Regions from separate parts of the Homo sapiens genome. Here all the other regions are linked to region 2. Evidence: promoter capture Hi-C in 16 types of primary human blood cells and fetal thymus (Javierre and others, 2016). All regions are on one chromosome and are shown on one strand. Each heading gives the region's core, a stretch centred on a gene start or on the middle of the fragment in contact. The rest is flanking DNA. Distances are from core to core; before and after follow the strand shown.

Region 1 (2,700 bases), core at 201-2,700, 330 kb after region 2:
ATCACCTTGTGCTTGAACAATTTTTGTTCTTGGAGAATGAAAAGTGTGTGTCTTACCTTTAAACGGAGGTTATGTGTGAAATACTGATTGACAAAACTAGTAATTGATAGGGTGAATCTATACTGCAAAAGAATTCAGTAGAGGATTCATTTAAATTGGGCTTTCCTTGATGTATTTAAAATTGGCTTTCCAGGAGTGTGGGAATATACAAGCTTTTCATTTTATAAATTACGTATTTCATTAAAAAATTTTTTTCACAGTAAAAATATTATTACCTTTTAATGTTGTGCTTTTTTAATTAGGAAAAGAGTTGTTTTTAAGTTGCCTTTGTTCCGGACACAATAAAATGACCGTTGTATAAACCACCTACAGAAAGATAAGATAGTTGCAATATAGGTAGATTTAGGTAGATGCCTCTATCCTAAGGGTTATTTCAAAGTAAGTTACAGATATTAAGTTTCATTTACAAAAGTATAACCAATCGGCCGGGCACGGTGGCTCACGCCTGTAATCCCAGCACTTTGGGAGGCCGAGGCGGGTGGATTGCCTGAGCTCAGGAGTTCAAGACCAGCCTGAGCAACACGGAGAAACCCCATCTCTACTAAAATACAAAAAAATTAGCTGGGCATGGCAGCGTGCGCCTGTAGTCCCAGCTACTTGGAAGGCTGAGGCAGGAAATTCGCTTGAACCCAGGAGACAGGTTGCAGTTAGCCAAGATCGCTCCACTGCACTCCAGCCTGGGCGACAGAGCGAGACTGTCTCAAAAAGGTAGTTACAACTAACCAAATAGTAACGACGGTTTGGCCTTACTACTAACAGCAGAAGAAATAAACACTGAAATTATGGGCCGGGTGTGGTAGCTCATGCCTATAGTCCTAGGACTTTGGGAGGCCAAGGTGGGAGGACTGCTTGAGCTCAGGAGTTAGAGAGCAGCCTGGGCAACATAGCAAGACCTCGTCTCTACTTAAAATTAGCCAGGTATGGTGGTGCATGCCTGTAGTCCTAGCTACTCAGGAGGCTGAGATGGGAGGATCACATGAGCCTGGGAGTTGGAGGCTGCAGTGAGCTATGATTGAGCCAGTGTACTCCAGCCTGGGCGAAGAGTGAGACCCTGTCTTAAAAACAAAAAAATTGGACTGGGCACGGTAGCTCATGCCTGTAATCCCAGCACTTTGGGAGGCCAAGGTGGGTGGATCATGAGGTCAGGAGATCGAGACCATCCTGGCTAACATGGTGAAACCCCGTCTCTACTAAAAAATACAAAAAATTAGCCGGGAGTGATGGCGGGCTCCTGTAGTCCCAGCTACTCGGGAGGCTGAGTCAGGAGAATGGCGTGAACCCGGGAGGCGGAGCTTGCAGTGAGCCAAGATCGCGCCACTGCACTCCAGCCTGGGCGACAAGAGTGAGACACACATACATATATATGTGTGTCAAATTGTCAAGGTATTTTACCTATTAAATAAGAATTCCCAGTGATGATAAGATTTTGATAAAGTAGTCATTCTCATTACATATGATACAGTCTTACGGGATATCAATTTAATAGAGTATATGAAGGCTTTAAAAGTTTATACTTTTTGACCCACTAATTGTTTCTCCCCATTACTGTCTGACCTAGGTATTATAAAATGAGGACAGAATTTTTTTATATTAAAAAATGTTCACTATAATGTTTTCTATAATAGTGATTTAGCCAGCAATTAGAATTTTTTTTTTTTTTTTGAGATGGAGTTTCACTCTTGTTACCCAGGCTGGAGTGCAGTGGTATGATCTTGGCTCACTGCAGCCTCCGCCTCCCAGGTTCAAGCAATTCTGCCTCAGCCTCCCGAGTAGCCGGGAGTACAGGCGCCCACCACTGTGCCTGGCTAATTTTTTGTGTTTTTTAGTAGAGACGGGGTTTCACCATATTAGCCAGGATAGTCTCGAACTGACCTCGTGGTCCGCCCGCCTTGGCCTTCCTAAGTGCTGGGATTACAGGCGTGAGCCACTGCGCCCGGCCATATTTCATTTTTTAACTCAAAATGACATATGCTCTTGTTCATTTGCTATTCGTGAACAGTTAACATCTTCTGAAATCTTTCCTTGGCCCTTTAGATGTCTGAGTTCTGATGGTCTAGTAGGATCGAGTATTCATCCATTGTTCCTCAAATATTCTACATACAAATGCCTGCTATAGCCCTCTGAAGCTCCTTCCCTTCCCCTTCCCTTTCCCCTTTCTTTCCCTTTCCTTTCCATCTCTTTCTCTTTCTTTCCTCTTATTTCTTCCCCTTAAGTTTCCTTATTTACATGTCATTCCTGCTCTGAGACAGGGAGCGGACTATGTCTTGTGACTTTATATACCTTATCACTATTACAGTTGGTTATGTGATAGAAACCTTATAAATGTGGTTCTAGAGATAGATTTTAATAATTGCAACATTAGTTTTCCCTGTAGAAAAAAAGACCAATTTATACATGAGATACAATATTTCTAAAATAGTTATCCTTTGTTACTTGTTCGGTTAGTTACTCAGTAAGGTGCCAGACTGGCCTGCTGAGTGCAAATGTGAAACAAGAAAGGAGTGATGGAGTTGGTGTTAACCAATTTTCTGTTCACTTGACAGGTGTGGGATTATGAGACTGGAGATTTTGAACGAACTCTTAAAGGACATACAGACTCTGTACAGGACATTTCATTCGACCACAGCGGCAAGCTTCTGG
Region 2 (2,700 bases), core at 45-2,544:
ACCAGCTGAATATGATCCATCAGTTGTATTCCTGTATCAAATACCAGGCATAGTGCCTGACAAATTAAAGGTGCACAATAAATGCTAACTCACTTACTATAGGTCGGAAGGCCCTGAGCAAAGAGGCAGGAAAGACAGTAATCACCGGTGCTGTCCCAGCCTTCTAGTGGATCAAGGAGGAACAGGATGGTATCAGCTACTTTAGCCATGTCTAACACAACGTGCAGATCCCCTGCAGATAGAAGACACAGTAAGAAGAGGTGGTTGGCACCAGCACATTATTCTAAAAAAAAAAAAAAAAAATACCACTACTCAAACATAATACAAAATATTGGTGTATACTCTAACCTGGCCTTGCTGAGGTGAAAAACCACCGATGTTTCAAGCGGGGGCACAGCAGCATAAAGTTCTGGGTGTTTCCCAATTCATTCAAGTGTACTGTTCCAGTGTCCCTATCTTGAAGCAGCTGCATGGCCTCTGGCAGGGAAATTCTGCTGTGCAGGGGCACCACCAGTACCTGATGAGGAGGGCCATCCTTGCCACCCAGCTGTCTCTTCTCTGCCAGAACCTGAAAATAGAAAGATATCCGAGAACATCTCAGTGTCTCAGTACTTCACTCCAGCATTGCATTTCCACTCCCACAGATGCTCCCCCTACCCAAAACCAGCATCTCTCTAGTAAAAGACCACAGGTATGCCAGCGGGGTGGCAGGAATTCTGACCAAAGCAAAGAATGCTAGACCTGCACGCTCGACACGTGCTCTAGGGCTATGCTCTGTCCCTGGACCCTCCTCCCGGTCTCATTTTCCACTTCGAGGCATTAGCCACCTAGAACACCAGAGAAGCCGCATTCTCCCAAATCCCGCTCCTCTCACCGCCTCCTTCTTCTGCTTTCGGAGCTGGCTGGCGCGATGCCTCTGGTCGACTCTGCTGAGTTCTTTTCTCACCTTCTTGCTTAGGGTTTTCAGTGCCAGACGGCCTGAATGGCAGATTAGAAGGGGCTGGTGTGATCGGCCCCACAAGGTCAAGAAAAGGGACTCCTCTCCGCCCACCTTAGAAAGGGCCTTTCGCGTGGAGCCCAGACGGGAGACAGAAGCTCAGTCTGGGCATGAGGAAAAAGAGTTAATAACGGCCAAATAGCCCTTATTCCTTCTACGTTATCTCCTTACCCTTGCCGTCCCGCTGTGCAGATCCCCGACCCCGATGCCGTCCGCCTTTATGAGCTTTATTCTGCTGCTTGAGCGGGCCGGGGCGGTGGGCCGCCATGCCGCAGCGCGCGTGTACGGAGTCAGCACTGCTTCCGGGCCAGGACAAGCGCTTCCGGTCCCCTCCAAGGGGGCGGGCCCTCCAGGGAGCGGGACTCCCTGCGCCCTCTCGCGAAGGTCTTTTCCAGCAGCTCGTGAGAGCGCCGTGTTAGCGGGTTCGCCAAGCCGCGCTGGGAACTTTTCCCACTTCGCAGTGTGTGGTTGGGGGCTTGAAGGCGCCGGATGTAGACTGTCGAGGCTCGGGCTGTTGGTCTAGCAGGGCTGTTTGTACCCCTTGCATTGTCATTTTTTTGCGCTATAAAGCTGCATCACGTAGAAGCATGTTGACTGGAAGGCTCCATTCGTGCCGAAAAGGCCTAAGCCCTTCCTGTCACCTAGATTCGGGCACGTTGCTCTTCCGTTTGCAACGGCATGTTCTTTATCACTCTGAGCAACCTTTCTTCTCCCTCGATTCCCTAGCGAGGCTTGGGAATCGCGTGGAAGACACTTCTCTCACCTTGCCCGGTTCCGTACCAGCTCAAGCCCGTCCCTGTTACTCCAACCTGCGCCCCGCCTCCCACGGAGCGGCCGGGAAGGACCTTGTGGGACGTGGCGACCCGGCAAGGGGGACTGGCCGCGACCCTCCGGCCGTCGGGCTCGGGCGGCTGCGCTCCCACTAATCTTCCCAGAAACTTGACAACTGCACGGCGACGGCCGGACGGGGATTCAGAGGGGTCACGGGGCCAGGCTGCACCGGCTTCGCCGTGGGCAGGCTCGGACCGCAGGGGACCCCATGCCCGAGCCCCGGCCCTTTCCGTCCCGTCGGGAGAGGGAGCAGGCAGAAGTCAGGGGAGCTTCAGCGGGACCGAGGCTCGCTCTCAGCCGCGGGGCCGCGGGCTCCAGGGCCAGCGCTCACAATGCGGCTTCGCGCCCTCCATGCGGGAGCGGGTGCGTTGCCATGACAGCGACCCCCGTGGCGCGCGCCCGGGTCTGCCGCCCCTAGGCGCGCACGGCCTCTCCCCGCCCCGATCCCCCGTCGCTGTGCGCAACCCCCCTCCGGCTGTGGGAAGGGGCCGGGCCTGCCGCCTGACGTCTGTGCGGGGCTCGGAAGATGGCTGCGGAGCCGAGCACCGGGCAGTGGCTGCGGCGGCGGCGGCGGCGGCGGGCCGGGAGCGCGGCGGGCGGGGGCTCCGCCTTGCGCGTGGGGCGCTGAGCCGAGAGGCGCGGAGGCGGCGAGGGCGCGGGGGCTCTGAGGACCGCTCGGCGCCGCCTCCTGCCACACCATGGGCAGCGCAGAGGACGCAGTCAAAGAGAAACTGCTGTGGAACGTGAAGAAGGAGGTAAAGTCGAGTCAAGAACCCCGGGGGGCTCGCGCCCTGGCCCGCGCGGCCCAGGGGGCAGAAAGGTCCGCGCCCACCCCCCGGCGCGGGCACCCGGGCCGAACCTGGGCCGGGCGG
Region 3 (2,700 bases), core at 104-2,603, 480 kb before region 2:
TTGCTTCATGTATTTCAAAGCTGTATTATTAAATATCTATATAATTTAGAATTCTTGTGTCCACTTGATGAGTTGACTCTTATTATTATGAAATGATTTTATCCCTGGGAAATTCTGTGCTTTGAAGTCTGCTTTGATATTAGCATAGCCACTTTGGCGTTTTTTTTGTTTTGTTTTGTTTTTTCTCTCCTAGAGACAACATCTTGCTCTGTTGCCCAGGCTGGAGTACAGTGGTACATTCACGGCTCAGTGCAGCCTCAACACCTTGGGCTCAAGCAATCCTCCCACCTCCGCCTCCTGAGTAGCTGGGACTACAGGCATGTGCCACCACGCCCAGCTAATTTTATTTTGTTTTTTATTTATTTATTTATTTTTGAGACGAAGTCTCACTCTGTTGCCAGGCTGGAGTGCAGTGGCGTGATCTCGGCTCACTGCAACCTCCGCCTCCCAGGTTCAAGCGATTCTCCTGCCTCAGCCTCCTGAGTAGCTAGGGCTACAGGCACGCATCACCATGCTCAGCTGATTTTTGTATTTTTAGTAGAGATAGGGTTTCACCATGTTGGCCAGGATGGTCTCCATCTCTTGACGTCATGATCTGCCCGCCTCAGCCTCCCAAAGTGCTGGGGTTAAAGGCGTGAGCCACCATAATTGGCCTAATTTTATTTTTTGTGGACATGGAGTCCTGCCATGTTGCCCACACTGGTCTTGAATTCCTGGCCTCCAGCAATCCTCCTGCCTCAGCCTCCCAAGTAGTTGGGACTGCAGGCTGCACCTGTAGTCTGGGAGGTGGAGTGCCGGGCCTGCCTGTGGACTGCCTGGACTGGGGCTGGGACGGCAGTGCCACCACGCCCGGCTCATTTCTTTTCTTTTTATTTGTAGGGGCGGGGTCTCACTTTGTTGCCCAGGCTGGTCTCAAACTCCTGGCCTCAATCCTCCTGCCTTAGCCTCTCAAAAGGCTGAATTACAGGCATAAGCTACTGTGCCTGGCCATTGTGTATACTTTCTATTGCTAGCCGTTCAAGTTCACTAATGGTTTCTCAGGCAGTGCCTAATCTGCTGTTAATCCCATTGAGTGTATTTTTCTTCTCAGATAGTATAGTTTTTATCCCTAGAAGCTTGATTTTGGGTCTTTAAAAACTCATCTACATCTCTGCTTAATTTTTGGGACATACAGAGCACAATGACAGTATTTGTTGTAAGGTCCTTGTCTGTGGATTCTGGTGTCTGTGTTAGGTCCGGATTTGTTTCCGTCAGTTGATCCCGGCCTCTCCGATCATGGATCATATTTTCCTGCTGCTTTTCATGCCTGGCCCTCGGACCGAATGCCAGACATTGGGATTCGTACCTCGTTGGGTGCTAGAAACTTTTGTAATCCTGTAATTATTCTTGAGCTTTTTTCAGGGATACAGTTAACTTGGAGACAGTTTGATCTTTTGGTGTGTTGCTTTTAAGATTTATTAGAGAATCAGAGAGCTGCATTTAGTCTAGGTGTAGTTATTCCCAATACTGAATCGAGACCTGACAGACTGTTCTACCTCGTGCCCCATGAATATGAATTTTTCCCATCTGACTGGTAGAAACAGGTACTATTTCAAGCTTGCTGTAAACACAGGCATGGTTCCCTCTGGCCTTCTCAGATGATTCTCACCCTGGCCTCAGATCGTGTCCACACACACACACGGGCCAACCAGGACTCTGCTGACTACCCAGGAAACCTGCCACCCATTTCTGGAGTTCTCTGTGTACAGCCCTCTCTTCTCTGCTACTCTGTCCGGCCAGCTAGACGGCGATCTCCCCAGACTCTCGGCCCCCATTTCTGCACCTCGGGTTCTGGCAGGCCCCCTAAGCCCTTGAGGCACTGAGCTGGTGCAGACCCACTCGCTCGCTTTCCTGTGCACAGCAGGCGCTACCCCTCATTGAAAACCATGCGTCTCACGTATTTTCTCCCTTTCTGGTGGGGGGAGGGGGTTATGTTAGGTGTTAGGGTGAACCTGGTCTCTGTTGCTCCATTTGTCCGGTACGTAGTTTTAAAAGTTGAATATTTTTGCGAGGTGTGTCCTTAAAAACAAAACAGCATTCTCCTGCCTCACTTTTCTTTGGCCTCTGACTCCTGTCTAGAGACAGTCTGTTTCAAATCTCACAGCTGTTTCTTCTCTGTTTGTCTCCATATTTCTAAATAACACATTTGTGCTGCTCTTCGTTAATTTTTTCAGTTGAAACATTTGTTTATTAACTTCACGCTATGGGAGATTAGAATGTGGTGCTCTCTCTTTTTTTTTTTTCTTTTTTAAGAGTCTCACACTGTCACCCAGGCTGGAGTCCAGTGGCGTGATCTTGGCTCACTGCAACCTCCGCCTCCTGGACTCAAGCAATCCTCCTTGCCTCAGCCTCCTCAGTAGCTGGGATTACAGGCGTGCACCACTGCACCCTGCTAATTTTTGTTTTTATTTTTTTATTTTTTGAGACGGAGTCTCACTGTGTCGCCCAGGCTGGAGTGCAGTGGCGCGGTCTCGGTTGACTGCAAGCTCCACCTCCCGGATTCACGCCATTCTCCTGCTTGAGTAGCTGGGACTACAGGCACCCACCACCATGCCCGGGTGATTTTTTTTGTATTTTCAGTAGAGACGGGGTTTCACTGTGTTAGCCAGGATGGTCTCCATCTCCTGACCTCGTGATCTGCCCGCCTCAGCCTCCCAAAGT
Region 4 (2,700 bases), core at 194-2,693, 420 kb before region 2:
GTGGTCAGGCAGATCTGGGTTCAAATCCCCCATCTTCCATTTACCTGACCTCAGAATTTATTCCCTCGTGTGTAAAGCAAGGATGATATTAACGCGTGCCTTCCAGGCCAGTTGTAAGAATTAGAAATATCATACATAAAACACCTAGCGTATCGTGGGCTAACCTTTTTTTTTTTCTTTTATGCAGCTAATTCTGGGAGACGTGGGCTATGTTTTTTAAAATGCAGTGATGGTTGCTATCCACGCTCAAGGAAAAATGGAAATTCCTTTGGTCAGTCTGGCCCAGCTGCTGGCGCCCTGGGACCTCTGGGGGGATGTTTTCATGCCTTCAGGTGATTAGCATGAGGCAGCGTCTGGAGTCTGGTGGTGACCGTCATTTCTTAGAGCTCCTGAAGGCAACTTTGGGACAGTGGGTGAACAGCATTGCAAGCAGGTTGGTTTTGACTCAACCAAAAAAAGTGCTTTCTAATGATCAGAAGCAACCTGCGACATAATAGGTTGCTTCAGAGGAGAATGAGCTGGTAAAAAAAGGCTGGTAAACGTCTGCAAAGCCCCCTGTAGGAGCAGAGCCCTGTGCTTGGCCCTGGCGACTGCGAGCTTCCGGTGAGGACACGTGAGGAGGAGCATCCCTGGTTCCCGTGCTTGGCTCAGACTTCCCTTTTGGCTCCGTTCCTCCCTGAGGGTGCCTTGTGGGCAAGATGCTCTGCTGTGGTCTCCCACTTTAGAAACCGCCTCAACGAGAAGGGACTCAGGGCTGAGTGACCCTCTGAGACAGGGACATGGTTTAGGCAGGTGTGGCCTGTCTTTGGGAAAGGTCCAATGCCCCTGTGGCTTTGTTATGGATCCAAAATTACAGTTACTCGGCTAGGCACAGTGGCTCACGCCTGTAATCGCAGCACGTTGGGAGGCTGAGGCGGGCGGATCACTTGAGGTCAGGAGTTCGAGACCAGCCTGGCCAGCATGGCGAAACCCCGTCTCTACTAAAAATACAAAAATTAGGTGGGCGTGGTGGTGGGCGCCTGTAATCCCAGCTACTCGGGAGGCTGACGCAGGAGAATTGCTTGAACCCGGGAGGCGGAGGTTACGGTGAGCCGAGATCACACCATTGCACTCCAGCCTGGGCAACAGAGCGAGACTCTGTCTCAAGAAAATAAAACAAACAAACAAAAAACCAAAATTATGGTAACCCAAGGGGTGGCCGGGAAGTTCCCATTCACAGCACAGGATCCAGTGGGGGCTGAGAGAGAAGGCTTTGTCCTGGGAGCAGTTCTCTGGGTCACTGTGGCTATCACAGTAGGTTGAACGGTGGCTACCCACAAGATACGTCCACCTGGAAACAGTGAATGAAACCTTGATGGGAAAAAGGGTCCTTGTCGATGTGTTTATGTTAAGGACTGCAGGACGAGGTCATCCTGGCTAGGGTGGGCCCTAAATCCAATGACAAGCATCCTTCTAGGACAACAGAAGAAGGAGACAGGACGCTCAGAGAAGGGGACGTGAAGACAGGCAGAGAGGCTGGAGGGGTATTCCTACAAACCCAGGAACAACAAAGACTGTGTGCAGCCACCAGAGGCCAAGAGAAAGGCACAGAACACAGCCTGGACAACACGGCGAGACCCCAGCTCTGAAAAAAAAAAAAAATGTAGCCGTGGTGTCACATGCCTGTAGTCCCAGCTACTCAGGAGGGAGGCTGGGGAGGGAGGATGGCTTGAGCCCCAGGAGGCAGAGCCTCCAGAGCCATGATTATGCCACGGCACACTAGCCTGGGTGACAGAGTGAGACCCTATCTCAAAAAAAAAAAAAGACAAGAAAAAAAGAAAGGCATGGAACAGATTCTCCCCGAGAGCCTCCAGAAGGAACGAACTGGCCAACACCTTGATTTGAGACTTCTGGCCTCCAGAGCTGGAGAGAATGAGTTTCTCTTGTTTCCAGCCACCCAGTTTGCGGTCGTCTGTTTCGGCAGCCCCGGGAACACAGGCAGCCTATTGTGTCTGTCATCTTGAATTACCCTGTGTCCTTTCGGCTGGGTCAGTGGAGAAGCCGTGGGTTCACTCAGGTTTCCATTGTATTCATTCGTAACTGGGATCCCTCACTCCGGGGCTGTCGGGTTCGAATCCTCACGGCCCAGCTCGCCTTCCTTCACCCCCCAGTGCCTTCTTCTGCGTCAGGTATGGCTGCACCCTTAGTGACTGGGGTTCTTATCACTTATCGGCATCTGATCCAGCTCCGAGGAGCACGGGGCCCTGGGCACAGGCTCCCATCACACACACACACACACACACACACACACACACACACACAGACACACACAAAAGGCACATCAGCAACTGGAAGAACAACCTTTTCAAAAATCACCTTTTGAAAATAGTGGCACCGGCTGGGCGCAGTGGCTCATGCCTGTAATCCCAGCACTTTGGGAGACCGAGGCGGGCGGATCACAAGGTCAGGAGATCGAGACCATCCTGGCTAAAACTGTGAAACCCCATCTCTACTAAAAATACAAAAAATTAGCCAGGCGTGGTGGTGGGCGCCTGTAGTCCCAGCTACTCGGGAGGCTGAGGCAGGAGAATGGCGTGAACCCGGGAGGCGGAGCTTGCAGTGAGCCGAGATCGCAGCACTGCACTGCAGCCTGGGGGACAGAGCGAGACTCCGTCTCAAAAAAAAAAAAAAAGAAAGAAAGAAAATAGTGGCACCAAGCAT
Region 5 (2,700 bases), core at 32-2,531, 450 kb before region 2:
GGAATGTTCATGTCACTGAGCCATCCTCATGAGTAGTACGGTCCACACGTATCTGCCGAACTGCAGGGCCCGTTCATAGTCTGACCAGAACTAGCCACAGATTTGCTTTTTTCTTATTGCTTGATTTTCTTTTAGGCTCTGGAGTTCGACTCCAGGTTAATTGCATTCCCACATTAAAATCGCATTCCCACATTAAAATTGCATTCCCACATTAATGTCTTCATCTTTTACTTGTCAATAATCATGATCCCAGTCAACATAAAAAGCACGGCTGTCCCCAGAATAAAATAACTTGGCATTGATCAAAGACAAGCTCAGTGCATACATGATACCTGGACAAGGATTAGAGATGTTTAGATCTTGGCTATAACAATGCAGAGTTTTTATTGTAAGAAGGGCCGCCTTGACTCCTGACGAGTGATCTTTGGTGGCAAATGTCTCCTTGGAGCTTTTGAAACCGTGAACTTGTGTAGCTAGTAGTGGTGAAACAGATGGATGGGCCTTGCTGTGCCCCTGTGAGGGATTTAGCCGCTTACCTGACAGGAGAAGGCAGCTGTCTGCAGCTCAGGGTAACATCCATTCTGTTAGATGGTCTCTGTTTAAGGAACCTGTTCTTTGTGTGGTTACCCACCTTGGGATGGTATTTGGCCTTTCATCTCCGGCCAGCTCCTCTCCGCCACCACTGTGTTCCCGAGCCACTTTCTCCTTGGCCCCTTTTCCTTCATATCAATTGATGTGTGATCAAGAAGTACAATCAGTTTTCATAATAATTTAATACAAATTAATTTAGCTTCGATATTAGCAAAAGTAAAATTTCACTAAGAAGGTAAATCTACAAGAAAAAAGATAATGCCTTCTGATAAGTTGCTCTGGTTTATAAAATCTTTTGGGCCAGGCACGGTGGCTCATACCTTAATTCCAGCACTTTGGGAGGCCGAGGTGGACAATTGCTTGAGGCCAGGAGTTCAAGACCAGCCTGGCCAACATGGTGAAACCTCGTCTCTACAAAAAATACAAAAATCAGCCGGGCCTGTAGTCCCAGCTACTCGGTGCGTGCCTGTAGTCCCAGCTACTCGGGAGGCTGAGGCACGAGAATCACTTGCCAGGAGGTGGAGGTTGCAGCGAGCCAAGTTGGTACCACCACACTCCATCCTGGGTGACAAAGCAAGACTCTGTCTCAAAACAAAAAAACCACTTTTGGCTTCTGTATCAGGCATAGGAGGCCTTTTATGGAAACACTTTTGCTACCACGGTATATTGGCTGTCCGTTTCCACACTGGTACATTTCGGTGATGATCACCACGCAGCTGCTGCCTGAGAATGAGCATTAGCAGATTAAAGGACTACCCCAGACGGCCACTTTATAGCTTACGGGTTGTTGACTTTCCCAGTTTCTGATTTTAGGCCTGGGGTGGTCTGGCCACTGCCAATATGCAAGGCTAGTTTAAGAAAAGATTCTTTGGTACTTTGGCACTGATTCTCTTCACCACTGGGGGGCATCAAAGCAACTGAGATTCAAAGAAAGGTCATTCCGTTTCTTCAGTAGACTTTGGGCCAGGAGCAGTGCCTCACGCCCTGTAATCCCAGCACTTTGGGAGGCCGAGGGAGGAGGATTGTCTGAGTCCAGGAGTTTGAGATCAGCCTGGCCAACAGAGCAAGACCCCATCTCTTAAAAAAATTTTTTTTTCGAGACGGAGTTTCGGTCTTGTTGCCCAGGCTGGAGTGCAATGGCGCCATCTCGGCTCACTGCAACCTCCGCCTCCTGAGAATTGCCTACAAGTGATTCTCCTGCCTCAGCCTCCCGAGTAGCTGGGATTACAGGCACCCACCACCACGCCCGGCTAATTTTGTATTTTTAGTAGAGACGGGGTTTCACCATGTTGGCCAGGATAGTCTTGATCTCTTGACCTCGTGATCCGCCCGCCTCATCCTCCCAAAATGCTGGGGTTACAGGCATGAGCCACTGCGCCCAGCCTAAAAAAAATTTTTTTAATGGGCCTGGGCATGGAAGTCCCAGTTACTTAGCAGGGCAAAGGTGGGAGGATCACTGAGCTCAGGGGGTCAAAGCTGCCTTGAGCCATGATTGCATCATTGCACTCCAGCCTGGGTGACAGAGTGAAACTCTGACACAATTTTTTTTAATTTAAATATTATAAAAAATATATAATTACGAAGATACCAGCTTCAGCCGACATGACCGTGACCTGTGTGAAAGCTGGGCGGGTGGTGGGAAACCTGTGTCTGTCGCGTAGCAGCAAGTTGCATGTGGAGAAGCAGAAGCATGTCACATCAAGCGCTCGTCATCGTTATTCGTTCACGTTTTCAGGTTTGACGCAGAAGGACAAGCCTTAGATGGTGTTTCCATCTCTGATCTAAAGAGCGGCGGAGTCGGAGGGAGTAACACCAACTGGAAAACCTTGTATGAGGTCAAATCCGAGAACCTGGGCCAAGGCGACAAGGTACCCAGCATTCCTAACCACCTTCACAAAGGGCTGTAAAGTGTGCAGAAGGATGGATTTAGAAACTTGGTTTCCAGCACCAGCTGTCAGAGCCGTAATTCTTACCCGGGGCTGTGACCTGAGCGTGGCATGGGGGTTGAGAATCACTGGCAGAGGGAAGCAGCCAGGTGTGCTCATGGGAATATGTGTTACCCCTCAGGGGACTGGAGGCAGGAGAGTCTGAAGAACTCTTAGAGTCAAT

Evidence for each region. Contacts are between HindIII fragments. The CHiCAGO score rates a contact against its expected background, and 5 or more counts as called.
Region 1: a fragment that was not itself captured here is called in contact with the fragment with the promoter of TSR1 in region 2 in 1 of 17 cell types (erythroblasts); the score reaches 5.1 in erythroblasts.
Region 3: a contact is called between a fragment that was not itself captured here and the fragment with the promoter of TSR1 in region 2, in 1 of 17 cell types (M2 macrophages). The highest score is 5.6, in M2 macrophages.
Region 4: a fragment that was not itself captured here is called in contact with the fragment with the promoter of TSR1 in region 2 in 1 of 17 cell types (endothelial precursors); the score reaches 6.9 in endothelial precursors.
Region 5: a contact is called between a fragment that was not itself captured here and the fragment with the promoter of TSR1 in region 2, in 3 of 17 cell types (endothelial precursors, activated CD4 T cells and M2 macrophages). The highest score is 8.3, in endothelial precursors.

Annotation. Positions count from the first base shown.
Region 1 is chr17:2,667,560-2,670,259 of GRCh38, forward strand. It overlaps PAFAH1B1 (platelet activating factor acetylhydrolase 1b regulatory subunit 1), which reads left to right. Exons shown (of 11, transcript NM_000430.4): 6 at 2,604-2,700. Among named protein-coding and RNA genes, the nearest start is that of MIR6776, 24 kb to the right of the region's middle. The HindIII fragment of the contact is 2,481 bases long and covers 211-2,691 here.
Region 2 is chr17:2,335,163-2,337,862 of GRCh38, forward strand. It overlaps TSR1 (TSR1 ribosome maturation factor), which reads right to left and starts at 1,295. Exons shown (of 15, transcript NM_018128.5): 1 at 1,169-1,295; 2 at 875-978; 3 at 349-568; 4 at 98-232. The coding sequence starts at 1,265. SGSM2 (small G protein signaling modulator 2) reads left to right here and starts at 2,339. Exons shown (of 24, transcript NM_014853.3): 1 at 2,339-2,583. The coding sequence starts at 2,527. RefSeq lists an enhancer at 1,463-1,572 and silencers at 1,803-1,932, 1,963-2,272, 2,373-2,482, 2,583-2,682. The HindIII fragment of the contact is 5,731 bases long and covers 1-2,700 here.
Region 3 is chr17:1,859,457-1,862,156 of GRCh38, forward strand. The region is part of intron 5 of RPA1 (replication protein A1); the gene reads left to right. Among named protein-coding and RNA genes, the nearest start is that of RPA1, 31 kb to the left of the region's middle. The HindIII fragment of the contact is 481 bases long and covers 1,114-1,594 here.
Region 4 is chr17:1,911,972-1,914,671 of GRCh38, forward strand. No RefSeq gene overlaps it. Among named protein-coding and RNA genes, the nearest start is that of RPA1, 83 kb to the left of the region's middle. The HindIII fragment of the contact is 6,793 bases long and covers 1-2,700 here.
Region 5 is chr17:1,881,486-1,884,185 of GRCh38, forward strand. RPA1 (replication protein A1) reads left to right here. Exons shown (of 17, transcript NM_002945.5): 13 at 2,327-2,459. Among named protein-coding and RNA genes, the nearest start is that of RPA1, 53 kb to the left of the region's middle. RefSeq lists a silencer at 1,537-1,586. The HindIII fragment of the contact is 2,906 bases long and covers 1-2,700 here.